7 separate regions of the Homo sapiens genome follow, and regions 1, 3, 4, 5, 6 and 7 are each linked to region 2. The links are contacts of gene promoters, found by promoter capture Hi-C in blood cells and fetal thymus (Javierre and others, 2016). All regions are on one chromosome and are shown on one strand. Each heading gives the region's core, a stretch centred on a gene start or on the middle of the fragment in contact. The rest is flanking DNA. Distances are from core to core; before and after follow the strand shown.

Region 1 (3,367 bases), core at 796-3,295, 460 kb before region 2:
TCATGGCCAGGCATGGTGGCTCATGCCTGTAATCCCAGCACTTTGGGAGGCCAAGGTGGGGGGAATCACCTGAGGTCAGGAGTTCCAGACCAGCTTGGCCATCATGGTGAAACCCCGTCTTTACTAAAAATACAAAAAAAAAAAAAAAAAAAAAAAATTAGCCAGGCATGGTGGCGGGTGCCTGTAATCCCATCTACTCGGGAGGCTGAGACAGGAGAATCGCTTGAACCCAGGAGGCGGGGGTTGCAGTGAGCCGAGATCATGCCACTGCACTCCAGCCTGGACTACAGAGTGAGACTCCATCTCAAAAAAAAAAAAAAAAAAAAAAGGAAAAAAAAAATCACAACCTAGATTCTGTAAGCACCTACAGCAGCTATCCTTTGCTGGGGTTTCCTCATTCAGCTCTCTCCTCATTCATTATCTGGGTCCTATTGTATTCCCTTTATTAGTTTTAGCAATGTTTAAAATTATTTGCTGCTTGAAATCTAATCCATTTTGCAAGTAACCAGCACCTGGGGGCAGGGGTAGTGATGAGAAAACAGGGCTAAAAGGAATAAATTCACAATGAGTTTTATATTTACACCATCCTTTTCCCATTCACAGGGTTTTCCCATTTGGGAACATTCTTAGCGTGTTCTCTGAACAGAAGACCGTTTCTCTTGGTCTGAAGTTGATCAATGTGAGAGGAAGATGGCACATTAGAAAGATGCCTGGCTCTGATGACATTCCACCCCGCAGTCTTCCAGCACACTGGGATCTGGGGCTTGAAGTCACTTGTCTGGCTGTGTGACTGTATCCACTTGGAAGCAGCGTCCCCTGCTCCTAAGTTGCACAAGATACTTCAGGGAGTCTGCTGTGATTTAGTGATAGACAAGTCAGAAAACAAGTTTAAACTTGTTATTAATCAGAAGAGAACACAGACATTTTTAGCTGTCTATCTGACTTGGTCATAGGGCAGAGCCATCAGATGCCATCAGTGGTGGTCGGTGTAGATTTTTTTGTGAATCAAGACAGGAGCAGGAAAAAGGGGGGTGGAAATAACAGACAGGTTCCAGGAGGGCCTGGTGGAGGGTTCAGCTGTTGGAGCTCATTTTTCTTGCTTTTTCCCGAGAGAGGGGAATGGACTGCCATTGTCACAGGTTAAGTCACAGAAGAGTGAAGCTCAGGTGACAGGAGACATTCCAAATTGAGAACAGACATGCCAGGGGTCCCTGTTGCCACCTGCTCACAAGCCAAGGCCTTGGTTCCGAGCCCCTCTTCTCTCTCTGCATTTTCTCCTTGGGTGACCTCATCCAGCCTCGCTGCCTGAAGTGCATTCCTACACACCAGTGACTCTCAAATACTATCTCCAGCCAGCTCTCTCCCCACAAATCCAGATTCAACAGCCACTCCATGTCCCTACTCAGATGGCTCCTACAGACCTCAGGCGAAACATGGCTAGCACGCAAGCCCAGGTGTCCTCCCCATCCTGTTTTCTCATCTCAGTTGATGTAAGCTCCACCGTGCACCCAACTAGTTAAGCTAGAAACCTGGAGTCACTCGAGACTCCTCTTTTTCTCATGGGCAAGCCCCATCCATCAGAGAGGACCAGGAGCCTTGCCTCCAAACCCATTTGCTTCTCTTGATTTCACCATATCACCTGTGCCCAACCAGCCTTCCATTTCTCTAACCCAGTGGACACAGTTCCAAACTGGTCTCCTTGCTTCTACTCCTCTCCCTTTACAATCCATTCTGCACTCAGCAGCTAACATCTTTTAAAAACATAAACTGGACCCCTTACCACTTGAAGCCTTCCAGGACTTTCTATTTCTTTTAAAACCTGACACAGCCCCTGCCTTCCTGGTCTCCTCTCCACTGTGTTCTGTGTGGCCAACCTCCAGGCGTACGAGCCTGCCTCTTGCCCTCTGGACAGATCAAGCTTGCTTCCTGCCTTGGAGATCTGGCCTTGGCTGTTCCTCTGATGGGGAGGCTCTTCCTCCAAAGAGTCACACGACCATCTCCTTCTTGTTCCTGAGTTCTTTATTCTCAATGAATGAAGTTTATTGCACTCCCCTCCCCAATCTCAGTAGTCCCCAGTGATCCTCTCTCCCAACTCCCATTCTAGCTTCATTATTGCGCTGTTTTTCCTTGGTTTCATGCAGTTTCCTTGTTCATTGACTCCTCCATTACAGAGTAAGCTTAGAGAGGTCAGGGACCACATCTGTTTCTGTCTCATTCCCCACTTCAGCACAGAGAACGATATGGGGCACAGTAGGAGCTCGATAAATGCTTTAGTGAATGCATAAACAAAGTAAGAAACCATGAGGTGACCCAAACCTCGGTTTCTTCAGTTATAAAATGGGCACATGGGTGCAAAGGCTCAGGTGTATTGTAAGGGTGAAACGAGAGGTGATGCGTGTGAGGCCTTTGTGAGCTCTAGATCTCTTTGTAGATGCAAAGTATCAGTGTAGATTGCAGTAACCAGGACATCAGAAGAAAACCCTGCTCTTTGGAAGCAAAGTGTGCCAAATAACAAAGCTTAGCTCTACAAGGCTATCGCTAAGCCTATGCAATAAATACTTTCTCTCCTCCACATCTGAGCTGGACATTCTCCACTTGTCCCTCCAGAGCCACTCTCCACCCTTCTTACCTGCCTCTGTGCCTCACGGGCTGTCACTACAGCTGCCTCAGTAAGCTCCCTTGCCCTCTGGGTACAAGGCTTCAACTGATGGGTGACACCAACAGGAGATCAGAGGGGAGGAGAGGGAGACCAGGTAACTTATTCCCTGGCAGACCTTCATCAGAGAGTAGCTGTGTTCTGCTGAAGGCTGTGGCTTCTGTCTGTCCACCTTCTCCTAGAAAGACCACATCCTGTGGGTTCCTGTAACTGTTCCTCCTTGCTACCCCATTCGACCTGAGGTTGGAAACTTCCTCTAGTTGTTGCTCTAGCCGCAGGCTGCTCCACAATCCCTAACCCACCCAAACCTTTGTCTAAAGCACCTTCCTTACACCCTCCCCAGCTGTGGCATTTCGGGGCCCTGTTAGCATCCACGTGATGCTGCTTTCTACAAATGTGTCTATTTGTGGTGACAGCACTTGCGCTTTGCTTTCTTCCCTTTCTTATCCTACCTGATATCCCAGCCTTCTGCCCCTCAGCTACAAGACCACTCCATAACCATAGAGGACCAAAATCACCTAGGAGCTTGAGAGAGAAAATGTATTTGACATCTTGAAAATAATGCAGTTTGCTCAGGGGATTTATTTCTCCCTCCCCTGGGCTCTGCGCTCAGACCCTCTTTGCTTCTGTCCGACTACTGCAAGCAGGCAGTTAAGATTATTTCTAGCAAATGGACTTAGAGAAGCTGAGCATATGAGTGATGTTGAAATT
Region 2 (3,343 bases), core at 98-2,597:
CGGCTTCGTCCGGGCGGGGAAGTCCCGGTCGAAGGGGTGAGGACCCCCCAGCCCACCTCGGATACGGAGGGAGCCACCCTCTGCCGACATCACCCAATAGCACCCCTTTCAGAGCGACACTAGTTTTCCGAGGCCACCCCTGGCTCCGCGATCGCGAGCGGACTTGGCGGCTTAACAGTTCCACTGACTGGAAGGAAGGAAGGAAGGAAGGAAGGAAGGAAGGAAGGAAGGAAGGAAGGAAGGAAGGAAGGAAGGAAGGAAGGAAGGAAGGATGAAAAGGAGGAGGAAGGCAGGCAGGCAGAAATTGGCTGTTGGACCCGGGGCTGGCCCCCGCGAGTCCTCGCCCGGCCCGCCCCACTCTGTCCAGGATCTGGGCAAGCGCTCAAAGTCTCCCCGAGGCGGCCAGAGGCACCTGCCCCTCGCCCGGCCGGGAGCAGACGCTGCCCCCTCGGGCCAGGAGCCCCAAAACCGCCTCTCCGCCTGCCTCAGCGCCTCACCCAGAGGTGGCGAGAACACCATTCATAAGACCTGCGGCTTCCCTGCCTCCAAATCCACCCCAAGTTAACCCGAGTCGTTAATCCACTAAAGCCAGCTCGCTCGCAAATACACGAGCAGACACACGCTCGATCGCCCGGAGCGCCTCCGAGATCCGGGGGCTGCCGGGGAAAGCCCGGGGCGACCACCTGGGCCCCAGCACGCCCGGGACCCGCTGCTTCCCCCGCGGTGCTCCAACTCCGGAAGGTTTGCACAAACTCCCCGCGAGCGATCGGAAGGCGAAGAGCGCCCTGCAAACTCCGGAGCCTCCGCGGTCCGTCCGCTGGACCCAGCGGACCCAGCGGCGGGGCGGGGGCCGCGGGCTCGGGGGCGCGGGGCTCGGCCAAGTACACCGAGGCGGCCACTGCCCGACGCTCGCCCCCCGCCCAGCAGCCCCCGAAGCCGCGCTCCCTGCCCGCGAGGCGGGGGACTCCGGGGACCGCGCCGTCCCCGAGCTCCCGCGACCCTCCTGCTGTAGAGCGCTCGAGCGCCGGGCTTCTCCGCCTGCAACCCCTATATCTGGCTCTCTCTGCAATTTAGCAGAACACAAATGTAACAATTTTCTTCTTGTTAATTGCATCTCCTGACATTTCTGCGCGTTGGGGGAAAAAAAGAAGATGAAGAAGTAAGAGCTGAAAGAAGAGAGAAGCCCCGCCGCGGCTGGAGGCGCCTGCAAGCGCAATGCTCTGGCAGCGCTCGCCACGCAGAAGGCGCCTTTTTTTTCATATTGAAACCACGCGGAATATGTACATTTTTTAGTCTTACTTACGCTTTCAGGGGGTTGTGAATGACAGTCGCCATTTTGCTACAATGTAACAGAATATTGTCTCAGAGTTCTAAAGGTTCGCTCAGGGGAAGCGACGGGCCAATCACAGCGCGGGATACCGGCCCGCCGGCCAATCGGCGCTGCTGGTAGCTAGGTGGGCGGGGCCTGCGCCGTGGTAGTTATTAGGAGAGCTGTCAAAGCCCAGAGGTCACTCCCTTTTGTAGAGCCCGAGAGCCAGCAGGTCTTAAAGGGGCAGTACAGCGCTGGTAGCTCCTTTTCGGGCTGGGGAAAGTGGAGACGCACGGGAGAGTATTATAGTTTGGTTTAACTCCCTACTTTTCTAAATAACTGCAGAAGAGTTTGCGCTCCCGGACAGAAATATTTAAATATTGCCAGCAAGCCACTGAATCCTATTCATTAGCCTTTGGCTTTGCGTATCAACATTTTTAATCCCCCAAAGGGTAAATCCCCGTGTTTCAGTGCAAAAGTTGGAAGGCTGCCGTTTCGTGTTAACAAATTACTACATGTGCTCTGCCGTTTGCTAATGCTCTGGGTCCTGCCGCTTTTTAATATTCTTATTCCCGAAGTGTTCTCTTTATCTCGGCCACCTTCCTCTCTCGCTTCTTGGAACTGTCGCTGCTGTTCCTGGCGACTCCAGGACAGCAACTCACCCTCCCCCTGGAACGTCTCAATGTCAGGCTCGCTCCCTCCTGCAGCCAGGGCTTTCCTTACGTAGTGCAGGGGGGTTACTCTGCGCGGTTCCCCGCTACCACCCCTTCGGTTCTTCCCTCTACACCAGAAACTTCCAAAATGCTCAGATTCCTGCTAGGTGGTGGGACCTGGAGCTCTGATCTTTAGGCTTAGGGGTAGGGAGGACTTAAGGCAACCTTTGGAAACTTTCTACTGCTAGGAAGCAAGTGACTAGGCAGAAGTTGTAGAGCCTGGACTGGGTGTTATCAGGGTCCCTTTAGAGGAGTGGCACACGCGATTCTGGCGTCACCTTTCACTACTTAGATAGAAGGTGGAAAGAATTTGCTAATGAATAATCCGATGTGACCCGAGGCGTCCAATGAGTCTGTGTCTGCTTCAAGTCAGTGTGAACTCTTCACTGGCGAGCCCCTGACAAAATTGGGAGACTTCTGCGAAGTCAGGCTTCCACTGGGCACCGGGAAGCTCTGGGGGGATGAAATCGCATTAAATCGCGAATAGGGTAGGGGCCTCGTTAGCATACAGAAGTCTGGCTACCATTCCAAAGCTGTTTAATCAGATCAAATAGCTAAGATAGTGGGGGAGGGGTGGCAAGGGGAGAGAAGTTGCCAAATTGCCAGTTCTTCAAAGCTATGCCCTCTCGCTTCCTTTTGCTCCTCTCAAGACAATGAATAAAATAAAATAAACATTCCAGAATTTTAAGAGTTCAACTACATACACTATTAGATTTACAGATAAACAGAACGTGGCTGAATCACTATGTTTTTAAAAGATTTGAAATCTTTAACTCCTCTCTGCGTATTTAAGAAGCAGAATTGAGTTCTATAGATTCCTTTGTAAATCCTTTGCATAGCATCTTGGCAGAGATTACAGTTTGAAAAAGTTATCTCCTTTTCCAAAATTGAAGTTTGAAAAATCCCTTCTTTACTAATTTGACAAGAAATTGGTTCAGAAGCCTATACTTTGCCTGAGGTGGGCCTTGACATCATTGAAAAGCAAGAACTGTATTCTGACCCAAGAAGTATGAGTTTGAATTATCAGTTAGAACTCCCAATAACCTCTTTGAGGTATCAAAGACACAACAATTCAGATTAGTAGACGACAACGTATTTTCTTACATGCAGCCTGATAAAGGAGGAAATGTAGAGCATGTCCTGAACAAGATTTACAATGGGGGAAGAGAGAAAAAACAAATGTATATTACATATTAAAGAAAACACATACTCTAAGCATGTACATATCATTTATTGTGTTAAGGCCTGGATGCAGAAACCAGCATAATCTCTAACTACCTAACGAACTTGAAAATGTCAGATCAGATTTATTGATTGGATT
Region 3 (3,456 bases), core at 727-3,226, 470 kb before region 2:
GGTGTTTGTCAGAATCAGAATGGACTCAGAGGGAAGCTGAGCTAAAAGCTTCAATTTACAGATGAAAGAAGAAAGAATTTGGATATGTGACTCACTCAGTGTACCAAGTTCGTGGCAGAAGTAAGTCTCAAACCCCAGGCTTGCCTCCAATTTTCTTTGCACTGATCTCCTGGCATAAACATGTGGCTAACAAGGGTCTCACAATGCCAGGAGGGTGTTACGTTTTTATAACCTGTTCTATTTGAGGGTCTCCAAAATTACATATTTGAAGTTAATATTAGCCAGATGCTAACTGTCTGCAGGCAAGAATAAGCACCCACTTTACATTGGGAGAAGCTAGAGATTTGGGAATCAGGATTTGCTGCAGATACTTTGAGGAATCTAGGCCTCTAATCCACAGTCTCCTAAATTCTGGAACTTCTGGCTTAATTACACTTTTTAATAACCAGTCATCATTGCTGCATAATTTGTGAGGTCTGGTATAGTATGATTCCTGTTCCCTTCAGCTAACCCTGCCCCCACCCCCATCCTTTAATAAACGTAAAACTTTTCTTTCCTGTGAATTCATTTTTTTCCCTTTTATCTTTTGGACCTTTGCAATTAACATATTAATATTTAATTCATATTACCTGAAGGTCCAAGAACACTTTTAAACTCATGAAAAACCTTCACTAGTAATTTAGCTGCTACCAAGGTATCCCTGAGCCCTCATTATTTGCCTCTGGAAAATGCCGTAAACGACATCTAACAGGCTTCAGCTCTGTACCTCTACAAATAAGAAATTAAGCAGTATTCAGAACGCCATTGATTATTAATTTAAAAGAAATCAAAAATCAATATCACATTCCTGTAACCTGGCAGTTTTTCTTAACTGAAGGCAGTTGCCTGCAGAAGCCTTGTGGCTTTCCAGAGCAACGGCGCCCCTTCGTGGTGATAATGTGAACTGCACCCCAGGCGTGATTGAAAATAAGGCAGAAAGGAATGCCGGCCTCGAGCAAGGACACCGGTTCATGCCCAAATCACTTCTGCTTTCAGCCAACAGACTGTTTCTGCCAAAAGATGGACGCAGCTAGATTTTTTTTTTTTTTGTACCGATAATCTGTCTTAAAACTTGGAGAGGATCTCTTTTCCCCTGTGAAGTCAGGAAAATGACAGCAAGCAGCATGGATTGGTTCGAATAATTTTCACCAGAAATGTGGGGTGAGGGGAAGGGATGGGACTGGAGTCAGAGCAGTGATCTGGCGGGATGGGGTGATGAGCCATACGGAGATGAGGTGTGGCGCCACGGGCTGGGAGTCAGGGATTATAGAGTGAGGGTGGGGTAGGATCTTCCTGGTCATCAAAACTATGAGAAATGTAATTATTTACATTTTAAACTAAGCCAAAGACTGTATTGAAATGTCTTACACCCAGAACAGAGAAGTGGTATCACCAAAGTTCAGAATTCCCAGCTCTAACGTGATGCCTTTGGGGACTGCCTCCCCACCCCAGGCTGACCTAACACACCCCTTTGAGAAAAGAGGATTTAGTTTCTCCTGACTGTGAATTGAATATGTGGGATGTGCCCCTCCAGGAGCTTCTAAAATCACCTCTGCTTTGACCTTGAGGGGCCGTGGTAGAGGGGAGACAGCACCGGCTTAGAAACCCCACGGCTCGGCTCTAGTCCCAGCATCAGTGGAGCACCAAGGGGAGAAAGTATTCATCACTGAGGTATTTTATGATATGTATATTGTTCCTGGGCAGTTGCACCCCTTATCGCCTGCACCCTGTGTACAGCTCCCCATTCCTCCTCCCTTGGAGGCCACTGTGCTATGTAACTTGCTGTGGGCTGCAAGAAAGACTGGGCTCCCGTTTCCTCTTCTGAAAGGCAGGAATCATGCTCCCGGCTGACCTCACAGAATCATTCCACAGATTAAATGGCGATATGGCTTGTCTGTGTTCACACTCAAATCCACATGTTGTGGGAGGGACCTGGTGGGTGGTAATTGAATCATGCGGGCAGGTCTTTCCCATGCTGTTCTTGTGATACAGAACAAACCTCATGAGATATGATGGTATCATAATGGGGGGAGGTTCCCCTGCACAAGCTCTCCCTTTGCCTGCTGCCATCTATGTAAGACATGACTTGCACCTCCTTGCCTTCTGCCATGATTGTGAGGCCTCCCCAGCCACGTGGAACTGTAAGTCCATTAAACCTCTTTCTTTTGTAAATTGCCCAGTCTTAGGTATGTCTTTATCAGCAGCATGAAAATGGACTAATACAAATGGGATGTAAAAATAAAATTCTTATATACTTAGAACGGCAATATGAGCTTTACATCTGAGTTATGCTATAATATCAATCAACATATATAATAATATAAAGTAGTATATTTATTATAAGTTATAATAACAGAGTGAGATAGCTTAGTAATTTCTTGTTAGTATCTGCAATCTTGGGGAAAACAAATCTAGAGAAATAAGTCCAAACTGGAGCTGCAGAGTCAAGTGGGCGAGAGAAAGAAGTCTCGCTTTTTTTGTTTTCCAGGAAAGCTCAGGTCCAGTTCAGCAGGCCAGCCCAAGAGACTGGGAGAGCCCTATGTACTCAGGAGAGCAGCCTCACCCCTCGTCCTTGTCCAAGATTGGGGAGTGGGTGCCCACAGCTTGTATGTGTCCCCATGAGAGTGGGTGTCATTATGAGGAGCATCAAAGGGCCAAGCACAGTGGTGACAGATGTGGGGGAATTTGCCATTCTGAGGGCAGAGGAGGTCAAACACAAGTGGACTCGCTTATTAAGCCCAGAAAGAGAACTGGGAGAGGAAGGCCAAGTGAGGATGGAGGCGGAGATCCAGGGCCCATCTGCAAGTCAAGGAGCACCGAGGATGCTCAGCAGCAGAGCCAGGAGAGGGCATGGAGCGGACTCGCTTGCAGAGCCTGTAGAAAGAACCAACTCTGCCGACACTTTGATTTTTAACTTCTGGCCTTCAGAACTGGGAGAGAATAAATTTCCATTGTTTTAACCCACAAAGGAAGAAAAAGACTATCAAGAGTAGAAGGGCCTGACAGGTGGCCACACGGCAGGTGAGTCAGAGAGTTGAGTCACGTGGGAGGTAGTTTAGAAAAGGATTTGTGAAGAGGGCCATCCCCTAGCAGCGTGTTGAATATAGTGAGGAATATGAGATGGAAAAGAATCTTTTTAGAGAACATGGGTGCCAGACATAGCCACAGACAAAGTCGTGAAATAGACAGAAATTTGTCCCATTTATGGAGACTGTGGTTTTCCACCCATATGTCCCCCCACCCCATGTCATGTTTACCTGGCCCTCAGGCTCACGCTGATGGCCCTGGGCTGCTTTTTTCCCCTCAAAAGCTGATGTCTGGTCTCTAATTATAAGATACAAGATGAGATGGAAATAATTGTTAACAATGTATTCATTCAACAATGGATTGTGTAAAAAAAAATGTGGTACACATACA
Region 4 (3,311 bases), core at 550-3,049, 400 kb before region 2:
TCTCAATAGTAACACTGCATACCAGAAAAAAAAAAACATGGAGTGATGCCTACAAATTTCTAAAGGAAAGAGATTTTTCACCTAGTGTTCTATGTCTAGCACTATCAGTCAAGTATGGAGATAAAAGCATTTTTAGACTTGCAAGGATTCTCATGCATCCTTTATTACGAAACTACTAAAGGATGTGCTTCAACACAATCAGGGAGTAAAAGCAAGAGATAGACATGGAATCCAGGAAACATGGGCTTTTCAACACAGAAGTGAAGGAAGTCCCAAAAAGATCATTTTCCATCAAGTCTATAGAGCAAATGATCCAGTTTCGAGCAAGAAGACTAAAGACTTCAGGAAAGAGGATCTCTGGGAAACAAGAGGACAGAACTGCTCAATTATTTGATGTGTTTAAGGTATAAAAAAATGATTGCTAGATGTTTTACAGGTTTGTTAAAACACTTGCTTGGAAAAAGTAGTATGATATTTAGCTGAACAGCAAACAATTTTTATCTAGTTTAATAATGTTACACTGACCATTGATTTAACAAAAATTGTAACACAAATCTATTTGGAGGATCACGTAAGAAAAGGAGGGAGTTGAGGACTGGTGAATAGAAAGATAAATTCTTGTCTAAAATAAAAAAATCAGGAATAGATATAAAAGCGTATAATTTAGAAATATATAGGTAGCTTTTAGAAAAAACATAAGGTGGAAAGTAGATGCCTCTCTGAGAAGGGATGGGAGGAAAAAATAATTGCTTTTGCTTTTTTAGTATATATAATCATTTGGTACTATTTTATTATTCTAACTATTCACATACATTTTGATAAGAATAAAAATTAGTCTAAAATAAATTATATCAATCTATAAGATCAACATATCTATTAGATCATAATTATAACTAGAAAAGTTGCTTTTTTGGAAAAAAATGCAAATGTTTACTCCTTGTGGTCTGCTGATATTTAAAAGTCTTTATCATAAGAAAGTCCTTCCGTTGGGAATGCTGAGCTGGCAGTCTGGTGGAGCTGTAGTGTCTTTTGTGTGTTCCAGATGCCTCGAGAATCAGTCTTTGTGGGAGGGTGGAACACAAACAGTTTTGACCAGTGTATTAGTATCAGTAAGGCTAGCATAACCAGGGAGAGATGCACCAAGGTTCAGGTAAAGAATCAAGTGAGGAAAAGATATATAAAATGCATGTATATATCATGGCTGCAACAGTGCAAAAATGGTATGTTCGTTATAAGAAGGAAATAAGGACAAATGAAAACAGTTTGATGTGTCAGAAGTGGGAGCGGAAATAAATTTTTTCCTTTAATTTAGAATTATGTGAAGACTGCTATAATGTTTGTGTAAAACAGAATAAAGGGGTTTTCTAAGGAAATCAGTGGCATTCTTTGCTCTGCCTCCCTCCTGCAGTTTAATTGCCTACACGGAACAATATGTGGAATATGACCCTTTGATAACACCAGCTGAGCCATCCAACCCTTGGATCAGCGATGACGTTGCTTTGTGGGACATAGAGATGAGGTAAAAAATGTTTTAAGGTTTGGGAGTGGGATGAATGTAGACAAAAATCCATGAGATCATGAGATTACCTTATATTCTATCTTAATTTGACATTTTTTATCGCTAGAACAGAAACCCCTCAAGTAGCCTCCCAGCTGAGTTCTACTTACAGTTTCTACCTCCTTATAGCTTTGATTTGTGCATGGATCCTTTGTGGCTCCCCTCTGACCCTTTGGATACCATGATAACTGAGACAGTCCCTCACCATTCCCTAGTTCTGATTGCTGGAAGAAAAGAATCTGTTGTTCCAATTTTTTTTCCTGTTAGACAGCAACAATAATGATAATAGCTGGCACGTATTCTGCATTGGCCACATCCTGCAGTAAGTGTCTCTCACTGAATCCCCTCGACAGGTAAACATTACTATTCTCACCACTCAGCAGTTATGGAAACTGAGGCACAGAGGAGTTAATGAACTTGCCCAAGGTCATACTGCTAGTACAGCAGAGTTAGGACTAGAACTCAGGCAGAGGGCTCCAGAACCATGATTTCATCACTCTGTTCTTCTGGAGTAACTGCCAGCAACGATTCCAGCCAGTTTCTCCTTCCCTGTGAGGGAAGCCACTGTGTTTACTTAAGAGGGGAGGAACCAAAGCCCAGAGGGACTTGGACCACTTTCAGAATTACAGAAGGAAACACACAGACAAAGCTAGTGTGGTGTGCCTTCACACCCCCTGCACCTTGGCTGGATGAATTTTTATTTCCCTTTTCATGTCTCTGTCACTCACATTGTCTTTCACTTTTGCCCCTTTTCTGGCTGCTTTTCCTGAAATGGAAAAAATCTTATAAAAATAATAAAAGTCGCAGATGCTCATTCTAAAAAGTTCAAATTATCCAGATGTGCATAAAGAAGAAAATGCTCTCTTCCTCCAACCCGATTTCACCTTCCAGAAAGAACCTTTGTTTATAGTCTAATGCTGTGGTTCCCAGAGTGGATCAGAGCACCCTGAGCACTGTGGGGAACTCACAGAGTTACCACTGGATAGTCCAAATTTTTTATGGAAACACAGCGATGGTTGACACATGGCAGATACTGCATAAACTACTAGCTTAAGATGGTTCAGTTTCAACATTAGAGCACGTTACATCCCTTATGATGATACGCATCTTTGCAAATCTGGCTTTTCGGAGCAGTCACTATGATAAAAAGCAAGAACTGCACAAAAATTAACATGGAATAAGAAATAGGGACGGTAAGTTCCAACCTAATTCCAAAATTTAAGAAAATGCGTAGTGCCCAATAGGTGCATATTGTAGTTATTTAAGAATGAAAACAAAATTTTCAATTTATGTGTCTTTCAAACAGCTACTAAGTTGTTAGGATACAAATACATATTAAGTTGATTGGTCCTAGCCATAATAAATGACACTGTTAAGTATTTCTTTTGGCCCAGGGGCACTGTGAAAAACTTACTGAGACGCTAAGGGTACCATGAGCTCAGCAAATTTGGGAACATCTGATTTAGTGTCTATTACTTTGGATTTTTATGCACATATAACATTCTATCCTTTTGTATAATTGGGTTCAATATATATACCCAAATATGTACATATATATATATAGTCCAATAATTTTTAAATTAACAATAGGTCGTGGCAGTCTTTCCATGTAAACACATATAGATCCACCTTACTCTTTTTAATAGCTACATACTATCCCCTGGCACCGGTGAAGTAAGATTTATTTTACCAGTACCTGGATCATAAATATTTAGCTTATGTCCTCCTTTTTTGCCACCATAAACAATGATTC
Region 5 (3,149 bases), core at 204-2,703, 340 kb before region 2:
GGTGGGAAGGTGAGACGGGGTTGGAAGCATGGAGCCACCCCAGCAGTGGCAGGGCCACAGGGCAGCGGTTCTTCCATGCCCCCTAATCATGGCCACATTGTATCAGCCTGAGCATGAGCAACAGCACCATGGCCACATACGGGAATGGGCCTCATTGGTGTAATATTTGGCAGATTCTCTCCACACCCCCCGTGGCGGTCTGGCTTACTGTTAAGAAGGGTAACCTTAAAAAATACATTTCCCACTCCAGAAAATACTCATATGTGGCCTGTTAGCAGCACAAGAAGGGTGAAAGCAATGCCCATTCCTGCCTCCCTCCCCCTGCTCACCTCCACGTCCCTGTTTGCCCCTTTGTAGGTGAAGTGAGTATATTCAGCGTCTTCATGGCAGGGGAGAGGGTGTATTAATCCGTCTATGTCCGCTGGAAAGGCAGTCTCTGAGCGGGCCACAAGGGTTCAGCCATGGCCCATCCAATAACCTTTTTGATGACTTGGATGAAGAGACAAACATTCCAACCACATTCAAAGATCCAGACCTCCAAAGTGTGGCTCATTTGGTAGATAATGGAATTATATTTGGAAAGCATTTCCCGCAGCTGGGATGATGGGTCAAAAACAGATAGCATTTTACCAGATCATATTTGTGTGTGTGTGTGTGCGCGCGTGTGTGTGTGTGTGTGTGTGTGTTTTAAATTCAGTTTCCCAACTACAGGATGGCATTTGTAGCCTTTCCTAAAAATCAAGTTTAAAAAAAAAAAATTTCTTGGGTTGTAATTGACGATAAGCTTAGTGTAAGCAAATGCAGAATGCAGCTGCTTTCCAAAGGGCAGCTTTAGGCTATATAACAAAAGTGGGAAAGGAAAAGTGTTCCATTGCTTTTTGTTGCTCTAAGCAATATTAAGTCTTGGTTCTAAGCCCCCACATTATCAGGAACTTTAACATCTAGAGACAATTGAGAGAGAAGAGCTAGAGAGAGAAAGTGACCCTGGAAGCCACGTCGGAAGAGGCTGGAGTAAAAATGTCTAGCCCCCCAGCAGACTTGATGGCCACCGTGAGCTCTTTGCATTTGTCTTCAAGAGTGGACACTTCCGGGTTGCTCCAGAGAGCAAGGCTAGAACAAATGGCTAGAAGATAGATAGGTAGATACTAAAAATATTCTAACAATAACAGAATATTCCAACAATAGACTATGTCCCCTCAAAGGGCAACGAGCTCCATGTCTAGCCGTTTAGAAGCTGAATGGCCAAGGATAGTGCAGAGTAGGTTTCTACACCAGATCCCATGATCTTTTGCAACTGGAATTCTATGCTGCCCCAAATACTTGTTAAATGGATCCGACTGCATTTCATTCTGTGGTTTATAAATAAGTCCTGGAAAAGGAGAATGAATTATAAGGAAGGAGTTTGCTGAGATTGGAGGAGAGGGATCTGAAAGACTCAGGACTAGACTCCGCCTTGAGGGAGAAAAAGCCACAAGATGACACACTCAAAGCAAGGGAAACCGTCAGGAAGTGGAATTACTGCCCTTCACATGTCATCCTTGCCTTCTTTTCTGTTTTTTGTTTTTTTTTTTGGCATTTGCTGCCGCAGCAGCTGAGCTCTGGGCAACAGGGCTCTCTCTCCCGAATGTCTGAAAGGAGGTCAGCAAGTGGAGGACACAGGCGCCCACTGGCACAGGGCATTGGCAACCATCGTGCAGTGAGCCCCAGCACAGCCAGGGTGGCCATGTGCGTGGGGCGTCCTGGCCCAAGGTTGAAGAAAACTCATCCTGTCATAGTTCCCATCCGGAAAGGGTGTTTTGTTGAAAGCAAAAAGGATCATAAAGTCATTTGCCTTTTACCCAATGCCAGTTCCAGATTCCAGGTAAATGAGCTAACATCAAAAACACCTCAGCCGGCTGGGCGTGGTGGCTCACATCTGTAATCCGAGCACTTTGGGAGGCCGAGACAGGCAGATCACCTGAGGTCAGGCGTTCAAGACCAGCCTGGTCAACGTGGTGAAACCCCGTCTCTACTAAAAATACAAAAATGAGCCAGGTGTGGTGGCACATGCCTATAATCCCAGCTACTCGGGAGGCTGAGGCAGGAGGATCACTAGAACAAGGGAGGCGGAGGTTGCAGTGAGCCAAGCTTGCACCACCTCACTCCAGCCTGGGCGACAGAGCAAAACTCCATCCCCATCCCACAAAAAACCCCCCAGAGACCTCGGACTGAGGAGAAACTATGCCCCCACCCTGGCTTCCCTCCTCTAGGGCCCTGCCAGGGGGACTTGTCCTCAGCCCAGCTCAGGGAAAGGGAAGGGTTCCCATGTCACATTCTTTCCAGCTGTCCTAAGAACCACCCCGATTGCCGATGACACTCCCTCCTCTCTTGGGCTTCACCAGGGCTGCTTTCAACTCATCGTGGGATTGTGTAATTATGGTGATTACAGCTTGTGACTTTTTTCCTCTCCATCTTTTGCTTTCAAATTCTTTGAGGCCTCTCATTAAACATGGCGATCCCGGTAAAGTCAGCAAAGTTTTAATAAGACACTTTTTACAGCTAAAGAAAGCCCAGTCAGGGTTGATTGCTACTATGTTCTCTCAGATACTCCATTAAAACTCTATCAGGTGCAGTTGGTGCCTAGGTATAAGAGGTGGGGGAGAGGGAAGGCAGGGAGGCAGAGGGCACCTGTACTTAGTGACAGGGCTGGAGAACCATTCCACACCATGCCCCTGGCTTTTTTTGTTTGCACTAAGCACCAAGTACATCTGAGCCCCCGTGCCTAACAGGAAAAGACAGACTGTCAAGCAAGGACCGAAAGCCTGGCCTTAACATCATAGCACATTACACTGGGAAATGGAGATGGAGCATCCAAGACAACACTTAACCCAACCTTGTAATCTTCTGCAGCAAAAGTGGTGGGGGAATTCTGATACGTGCTCTGTCCTGGTTAATACTAGAAGGTTCTGAGGCATCCATAATTCTAAATAATTAAAGGAGTCAATCAATCACTAGCCTTTGTGAGTCATCACAATCCGGTGGTTTTACACCTGATGGAGGTTTTACACCTGATGGAGGTTTCCTTGGTAGTGATTCAGCTTCACATCTCATTCTTGGCTAATCTTTAATCATAGCTTGCTTGCTTGCTTTTTGTTGTTGTTTTGGTTTGG
Region 6 (3,256 bases), core at 455-2,954, 440 kb before region 2:
TTATGGTCCAGGTCTGGAAGTGGCATATGCCATTTCTACCCATATTCTATTGGCAGAACTCAGTCCATATCTAAGTGCAGGGGAGGCTGGAAATGTAATCTAGCTATGGCACAGTGAGGAGAGGAAAGAGGTCTTGGTGAATACATAGACGTTTCTGCCACAAATGCAGGGACACATTCATTCAGGATAGGCCTGTGCCGGAAGAGATGAGAGTTTTGCAAGAACCTATGAGGTCACCTGTGTTGGTCAGCCCTTGTAATTGATGGTAGGGAGCTGATGAGGCCTCCTTCTTCAAGAAATGGTCTGGGGGCCAGGCATGATAAAGCTTCACCTAGCACGTCTCAGGGAAGTCCTCTATAGACACTTCCTAGAAACATGAATATAAGCTCATCCTGCATCATCAGAAGTGAGTGTTTTTTGGACAAGAATGGAATTGTAACTATGGAAGTGTACTGAAGAATGGAAAGGGTTGGTTAGGACAAAAAAAAGTGCCCATATTATCCTGCTCTACAGTGTGGACTGTTTGGAATTAGGATTCTCTTAGGTAAACATGTTTCTTCTGCCACAGTGTTAAACACCCAGGAGGTCTTCAGCTGAAATTGCTTTATCGTTGCAGGTACTGACATTGTGCAGTGGCTTATGAAGAACCTTTCCATTGAGGACCCAGGTACTTGACCTTTGACCCCACCCTTATCTCCCCTGGTATCAGTAAACATCCCATAACCAAGTTCCAAACTAGATTCCCCTGCCCTCCTGAGAACTGGTCTTGTAAATGTGAATTCCAAGACGTGGAATCACTCTATTTACAAATAAAATTAATTTATTTTCTCCACTGAATATTTGTCTTTAAATTTAAATCATGCTTTGAGGAAATGAGCAACTTTTTAGAATGCCAAAGAGCCCAATACAATAATGTGTGAAATGAGTTGAATTCTCATTAGCTGCAGCAATTAAAGATAAGTTGTAGCACTGTCACTGAACAGCCTTCTAGAGCCAGCTCTTAAAATTAGATTGCCTGATCCACAATTAAGATGTTTAATTATTTGCTAAGACTCCCTCTGTTTTCTGCTTCTGCAAGAAGTGAAGGAATGATTTTTTTTCAACTTTAATTGCGCATTTCAATTAGGAAGACCTTACCAGGAAAACAACAACAGAACCCTGGCCAATAAAACAATTTCCCAGTCTGTTCTCCCACCAGAAAATAGGCAGTAAAATTTATTTTCACAGTGTAATTAGGAAATGGGGGGGGTGTTCCAGAAAAATAAAAATTCAAGATAAGTAAAGCTTATTCCCATGTGCTGTCAGTTAATACTTTTCCGAATTTATTACATACTCCTTTGCCTTGATTAACTGAGTATTCTTGATGCCTGAAGGTCACATTTATAAAGATCCACTAATACACTCTGATGTTCTTAATGGACATTGGCGTGATTAGACTTACCTGCCCCAAATTAAATGGCCCTGAACCACAATGCTTTTTGAAGATTTTTTTGAAGTGCCCATTCTGCATCCGTGACCTTCAGCTGTGAGTCCCTGCTGGAATCGGTGTGTCAGCTTGGCACTCCTGTATTTTAACCCAACATTTCTAATCTGTTGACTGCAAAACAATACAGTTTCTATGCAGTTCAATTATATACAGTTGTTAGAACTCTGAGTGCCAGAAAAGCAGATCATTCATAGAAGTGGCCCGAGTCTTTTCACCCCCTTGATTAGTGGCTACTCTCACAACTAGTGAAAATTCTTAATTCTAGTCAAGTTCTTGATTCACAGGGAAAAAACTATAAATGCTAACCCTTTGTAAAGGATAGAACCCAAAGCAACTCACTATGTGTTGTCCCTGATGCAGCCTGTACTTCTGAGTGTCCGCTTGGAAAGCCTGGACTGAATCAGCATCTACCTGTTTAGTTACATTTATCTAAAGTCAGTATTTCTTGTGATTATAATGCTAAACTAAGGAACGTGTTTCCTCATGGCCACCTTTTCTCTTCCAAGAGCACTGGTTTCTTTGCCTCCTAAAATAATCGTTGTATTTCTGACATATATTTTATTATTACTATTATGAGAACCCTAAATTGGCGAGCAGTATGTGAGAATGAGCTTCAGGAATCCTCCAGCCCTGGCGTGAGAAGCTTCTGTGAAGGGTCCTGAATGATGAGAGTTATTTCTATGAAAATCTGTTATACTCTGATGCCCTTGGGAAGACATCATGGTATAGGGGCCTGTTTGGGCTTCTGAGAAGTGGCTGAGGAGAAGCTAAGAACCATTTGTCAGCTGGGAATAGTCTAAGGGGGGAGATGAGGCAAACCGAGGCCTTGGGAAACAGTCAGATCCAGCATCTGCCCCTCTCTCCCTTCTTTTTCCCATCAGTCGATTTCCTGTGGTTATTTTTTGGTTTTTGAGGCAAGGTCTCACTCTGTCACCCAGGCTAGAGTGCAGTGGCACGAGCATAGCTCACTGCAGCCTTGACCTCCCTGGCCCAAGCCATCTTCCACCTCAGTCTCCCGAGTAGCTGGGACTATAGGCTCCTAGCACCACATCCAGCTAATTTTTTGTTTTATTTTTTGTAGAGATGGGGATCTCACTGTGTTATCCAGGCTGGTCTTGAACTCCTGACCTCAAACAATTCTTCTGCTTTGGCCTCCCACAGTGCTTGGATTACAGGTGTGAGACACTGCACCTGGCCCCATTGGCCAACGTCTAAGCAAAAACATTTTTGCTCAGAGAATGAAGTTAGAGTCTTAGCTCCAAGACTGGTGGCATGAAAGTCACCTTCCTACAGGATTTTGTTCTTTCTTCTCTGGGGAAGGAGCAACTGCTGATGATGAAACTTCTGTTCTAGCTGGACTCATGGTTCTTGAAGCATATGGACTTTAAAAAGCAAACCGGCCAGACATGGTAGCTCATGCCTGTAATCGCAGCTCTTTGGGAGGCTCAGCTGGGAGGACTGCTTGAGCCCAGGAGTTCAAGACCAGCCTGAGCAAGATGGCAAAACCCTACCTCTACCAAAAAAAATAAAAAAAAAATTAGACAGACGTGGTGGCATGTGCCTGTGGTTCCAGCTACTTGGGAGGCTGGGGCAGAAGTATCACTTGAGCCCAGGAGTTCAAGTCTGCAATGAGCTGTGATCATGCCACTGCACTCCAGCCTGGGTGACAAGAGTCAGACCTGTCTCTAAAAAAAAAAAAAAAAAAAAAAAAATAGCAAATTGGTCATCACTAAGCAAGTAAAATAAAACTCTATTCATTCCAATTCCACC
Region 7 (3,275 bases), core at 644-3,143, 360 kb before region 2:
TTGTACTGCATGCTCTCTCCAGCTCTCACTGTGCCTCGGACTCTATTGATTCTAGTTGGTTTTGATCCTGCCTTAGCATTCCAGGAAAGCAGAGCTCTCCTAGCCCAAGAAGAGAAAATGAAGGTGGAGTGGCTCATCGGGGTAACATCCCTCCACTACAGCCATCAACCACTCCAGGGATATGATGCCTCCCACTGCTGAGGACTCTGGCTAAGACACTGGTGTGATTTAGAGCCCTAGAGCATTGGTTTATCATCATATAGAGAACCACCCTCATCTTCTTTGGAGGAGGTGCCTCTCCACTGCATCCCAAGGTGGGAGTGACCTCTGGTAGTTCTGCTTGTTCATAGTCAGCTTAGTCATCTCTGTTGTAGAAAGAGAAAGAGAGAGAGGGCAAGAAAGGGAAAGACGGAGGGAGAGAGGAAGGAAGTGGGAAAGGAGGGAAGAAGATAAGGCAAGACAAAATAAGACAAAGCAAGAAAGAGAGAGAGCACGCGGGCCAGCACGCTTTTTCTCCATCCCCTTAGGAATTTACTCTCAGCAGGGGCTTGGCTTGGCTGGTTTTGCCAGTGACTCCCTTGCACTTTGCAGATTCTGAATATACATTTCCCTTAAGACTGGTTGTCTGCAGAATAGGGGAAACAAACCAGCACCCCCATAAATCAGCAGAGGTCACTGCCAAGAGCTTTGTACACTTGCTGTCCCTGGCAGTGATAAACTCATTGCATTTGGGAAATGGCCAAAGACCCTGAGTCCAATCTTAATTCTCATTCCCAGAAAAATCTCAGTTTTCTGTTCACCCACCCCCGTTTACTGTCTTTGTGTTTCCTAGACAAAGCTGGCAAGGAGGAAAGAACACAGTTCAATAACTGGATCATCAAAGGCTGCATTTCGTTGCTTGGGGGAGGAGTTGCAGGGCAGGAAAGAGTCACAGATCCCTAGGCTGTGGAAAAGAGAGGCCCAGGCCAGAGGGAGGCTGAAGCCATGGGGTCTGCATGGGGTGTGAGAGATCCGCAGAGGTTCTCAGATTCTGGTTTTCTCAGACCCGCACCTTGGATCTGCTATTACTGCTGTGGTCGGTTGTTCCCTTGAAGGGTGGTTCAGGCTGTTATAATGGTGGTCAAGGGCTAGCAGTGGGATTGGTGTGGTGAGACCACCTCATGGGACTCATGCTCCAGTAGGTTGTGTTCTTATTCTCTTATCTTTCTCCCCACACCATCCTCACCTTGGTATCTGGCTTTGGAGTTGGCCATATGACATGGAGAAGATGAGAGTGGTGTCCAAACTGCTCCTCTGACCCACATGGGCCTCCTGAGAGTGGACAACCTCTCTCTGCTGCCCTTTCCTCCTTGCCCCTTGATTGTCTTTCTCCTCTGATTGATCAGACTGTGAAGCTGCAAGACCAGACCCCCCCCTCCCTGCAATCCCACAGAATTAGGAGACATATTTCTGTCTCTCTACACAGATCTTTCCACTTTGATGAGGATCTTTCTGGTTGAGAGACCACCATTCCCCACTTGTAGCAGGATAGGTCATCCCCAGGTATACACATTCATACCCTGTGCCTGTACTTCATCTCTGCAGCCCTTAGCTGAATTGGCTAAATGCGTCTCTGTGCAAAGTCTATCTTGCCTAGTTGGATCTAAGCTTTATGACATTAGAGGCCGATTTGTCTTATTCAGGCTGTTATCTCAGCGTCTGACACAGTGCCCTGGCACCTAGTAAATGCTCAATAACTATTTGCTGAATATTATTTTGATTCAGTGTTTAGACATCTGCTTTATCCTGCTCTATTTTGATTGACAAGTTCTTTCTCTTCATGAACCAGGCTTTTCCCTCCTACAATGAGTCTATAAGAATTAGCTAGATCAGAGGGGAATTTGGTGCTGAGCCAGAAGAGCTGTCTAGGGGAGGTTTCCTCACTTCTTATGGGGCAGCAGAGGGGTATTGTGAGATATTGAGAAGTCAGAACAAGAAGCAGGGAACTGTTGCTTTGGAGAAGGGTCTGGAGAGGTTCCAGGCACTATGATAGGCTTTTCCAGATGACTCAGGAGCCACCTGGCTCTGTCAGCCAGAAAGAAGTGATGCCTGACACAAGGAGACAGTGTGTCATTTTTACTGTGGACTAACATTTGTACCTAAGCTTTAAATGTTAAAATAATTTGGCTGGGTGTGGTGGCTCATGGCTGTAATCCCAGCACTTTGGGAGGCCGAGGCGGGTGAATCACTTGAGGCCAGGGGTTTGAGACCAGCCTGGCCAACATGGTGAAACACCGTCTCTACTAAAAAATATATAAAAATTAGCCAGGCGTGGTGGTGCATGCTTGTAATCCCAGCTACTTGGGAGGCTGAGGCAGGAGGATTGCTTGAACCCGTGAGGTGGAGGTTGCAGTGAGCCAAGATCACACCACTGCACTCCAGCCTGGGCAACAGAGCGAAGACTCCATCTCAAAAAGAAAATGTTAGAACAATTTAAAGAGACAACAAATGAAACCAAAGACCAATGATACCCCTCAGCCTGGGCTCTGAGACCATTAGGGATGGCTGAGCCAAGATTTTCATGCTCCTCTGAGCTGAGTGTAATCCTCATTCTCCTTCTGTGCAGAGAGCAGGAACTTGATGCAGTCATAAACCCAAGCAAGTATGGAGCCAGTAAACTTGCTGAACATTAAATTCCAACCGGCATTTCAGTGAACATGTATATTCGACTAATATCTGAGCCTGTGCTAGACAGTATGCATCTGTAAAAATAAACACATACTGTTCCTCAAGGCACTTAAACAAGAGTGAGCTGGATTTTTGTCTGAAATTTTCAGAAAAACACTTAGTGAAGTGTGTTCACACTAAGTTTGTTAAATCAGAATACGTCTGGACTATCCAAGTAGTCTCAGAACCAGGCCACTATTGGAGGCTGGGCGCGGTGGCTCACGCCTGTAATCCCAGCACTTTGGGAGGCTGAAACAGGTGGATCACTTGAGGCCAGGAGTTCGAGACCAGCCTGGCCAACATGGGGAAACCCCGTATCCACTAAAAATAAAAAAATCAGCTGGGTGTGGTGGTGCATGCCTGTAGTCCCAGCTACTCATGAGGCTGAGGCACGAGAATCACTTGGAACCCGGGAGGCAGAAGTTGCAGTGAACTGAGGTCACACCACTGCACTGCAGCCTGAGTGACAGCAAGACTTTATCTCAAAAAAAAAAAAAAAAAAAAAAGAACCAAGTCAGTATTTAATTTCATTTGAGTCCTTCCAGTGGGTTTATTCCCATTAGTGGGGT

The links. Contacts are between HindIII fragments. The CHiCAGO score rates a contact against its expected background, and 5 or more counts as called.
Region 1: a contact is called between a fragment that was not itself captured here and the fragment with the promoter of DPF3 in region 2, in 3 of 17 cell types (activated CD4 T cells, total CD8 T cells and total CD4 T cells). The highest score is 6.9, in activated CD4 T cells.
Region 3: a contact is called between a fragment that was not itself captured here and the fragment with the promoter of DPF3 in region 2, in 2 of 17 cell types (activated CD4 T cells and total CD4 T cells). The highest score is 7.6, in activated CD4 T cells.
Region 4: a contact is called between a fragment that was not itself captured here and the fragment with the promoter of DPF3 in region 2, in 16 of 17 cell types (activated CD4 T cells, naive CD4 T cells, naive CD8 T cells and 13 more). The highest score is 14.1, in activated CD4 T cells.
Region 5: a contact is called between a fragment that was not itself captured here and the fragment with the promoter of DPF3 in region 2, in 15 of 17 cell types (monocytes, naive CD4 T cells, total B cells and 12 more). The highest score is 16.3, in monocytes.
Region 6: a contact is called between a fragment that was not itself captured here and the fragment with the promoter of DPF3 in region 2, in 10 of 17 cell types (total CD4 T cells, activated CD4 T cells, naive CD4 T cells and 7 more). The highest score is 11.2, in total CD4 T cells.
Region 7: a fragment that was not itself captured here is called in contact with the fragment with the promoter of DPF3 in region 2 in 16 of 17 cell types (total CD8 T cells, naive CD8 T cells, naive CD4 T cells and 13 more); the score reaches 37.1 in total CD8 T cells.

The regions. Positions count from the first base shown.
Region 1 is chr14:72,437,035-72,440,401 of GRCh38, forward strand. All of the region lies in intron 3 of RGS6 (regulator of G protein signaling 6), which reads left to right. Among named protein-coding and RNA genes, the nearest start is that of MIR7843, 78 kb to the right of the region's middle. The HindIII fragment of the contact is 259 bases long and covers 1,917-2,175 here.
Region 2 is chr14:72,892,754-72,896,096 of GRCh38, forward strand. DPF3 (double PHD fingers 3) reads right to left here and starts at 1,348. Exons shown (of 11, transcript NM_001280542.3): 1 at 1,304-1,348. The coding sequence starts at 1,335. RefSeq lists an enhancer at 1,308-1,602. The HindIII fragment of the contact is 4,463 bases long and covers 1-3,343 here.
Region 3 is chr14:72,420,015-72,423,470 of GRCh38, forward strand. The region is part of intron 3 of RGS6 (regulator of G protein signaling 6); the gene reads left to right. Among named protein-coding and RNA genes, the nearest start is that of MIR7843, 95 kb to the right of the region's middle. The HindIII fragment of the contact is 3,861 bases long and covers 47-3,456 here.
Region 4 is chr14:72,493,744-72,497,054 of GRCh38, forward strand. It overlaps RGS6 (regulator of G protein signaling 6), which reads left to right. Exons shown (of 18, transcript NM_001204424.2): 13 at 1,409-1,519. Among named protein-coding and RNA genes, the nearest start is that of MIR7843, 21 kb to the right of the region's middle. The HindIII fragment of the contact is 5,151 bases long and covers 1-3,311 here.
Region 5 is chr14:72,547,687-72,550,835 of GRCh38, forward strand. All of the region lies in intron 17 of RGS6 (regulator of G protein signaling 6), which reads left to right. Among named protein-coding and RNA genes, the nearest start is that of MIR7843, 32 kb to the left of the region's middle. The HindIII fragment of the contact is 1,343 bases long and covers 783-2,125 here.
Region 6 is chr14:72,453,912-72,457,167 of GRCh38, forward strand. RGS6 (regulator of G protein signaling 6) reads left to right here. Exons shown (of 18, transcript NM_001204424.2): 4 at 617-667. Among named protein-coding and RNA genes, the nearest start is that of MIR7843, 61 kb to the right of the region's middle. RefSeq lists a silencer at 2,621-2,823. The HindIII fragment of the contact is 845 bases long and covers 1,283-2,127 here.
Region 7 is chr14:72,528,242-72,531,516 of GRCh38, forward strand. All of the region lies in intron 15 of RGS6 (regulator of G protein signaling 6), which reads left to right. Among named protein-coding and RNA genes, the nearest start is that of MIR7843, 13 kb to the left of the region's middle. The HindIII fragment of the contact is 496 bases long and covers 1,646-2,141 here.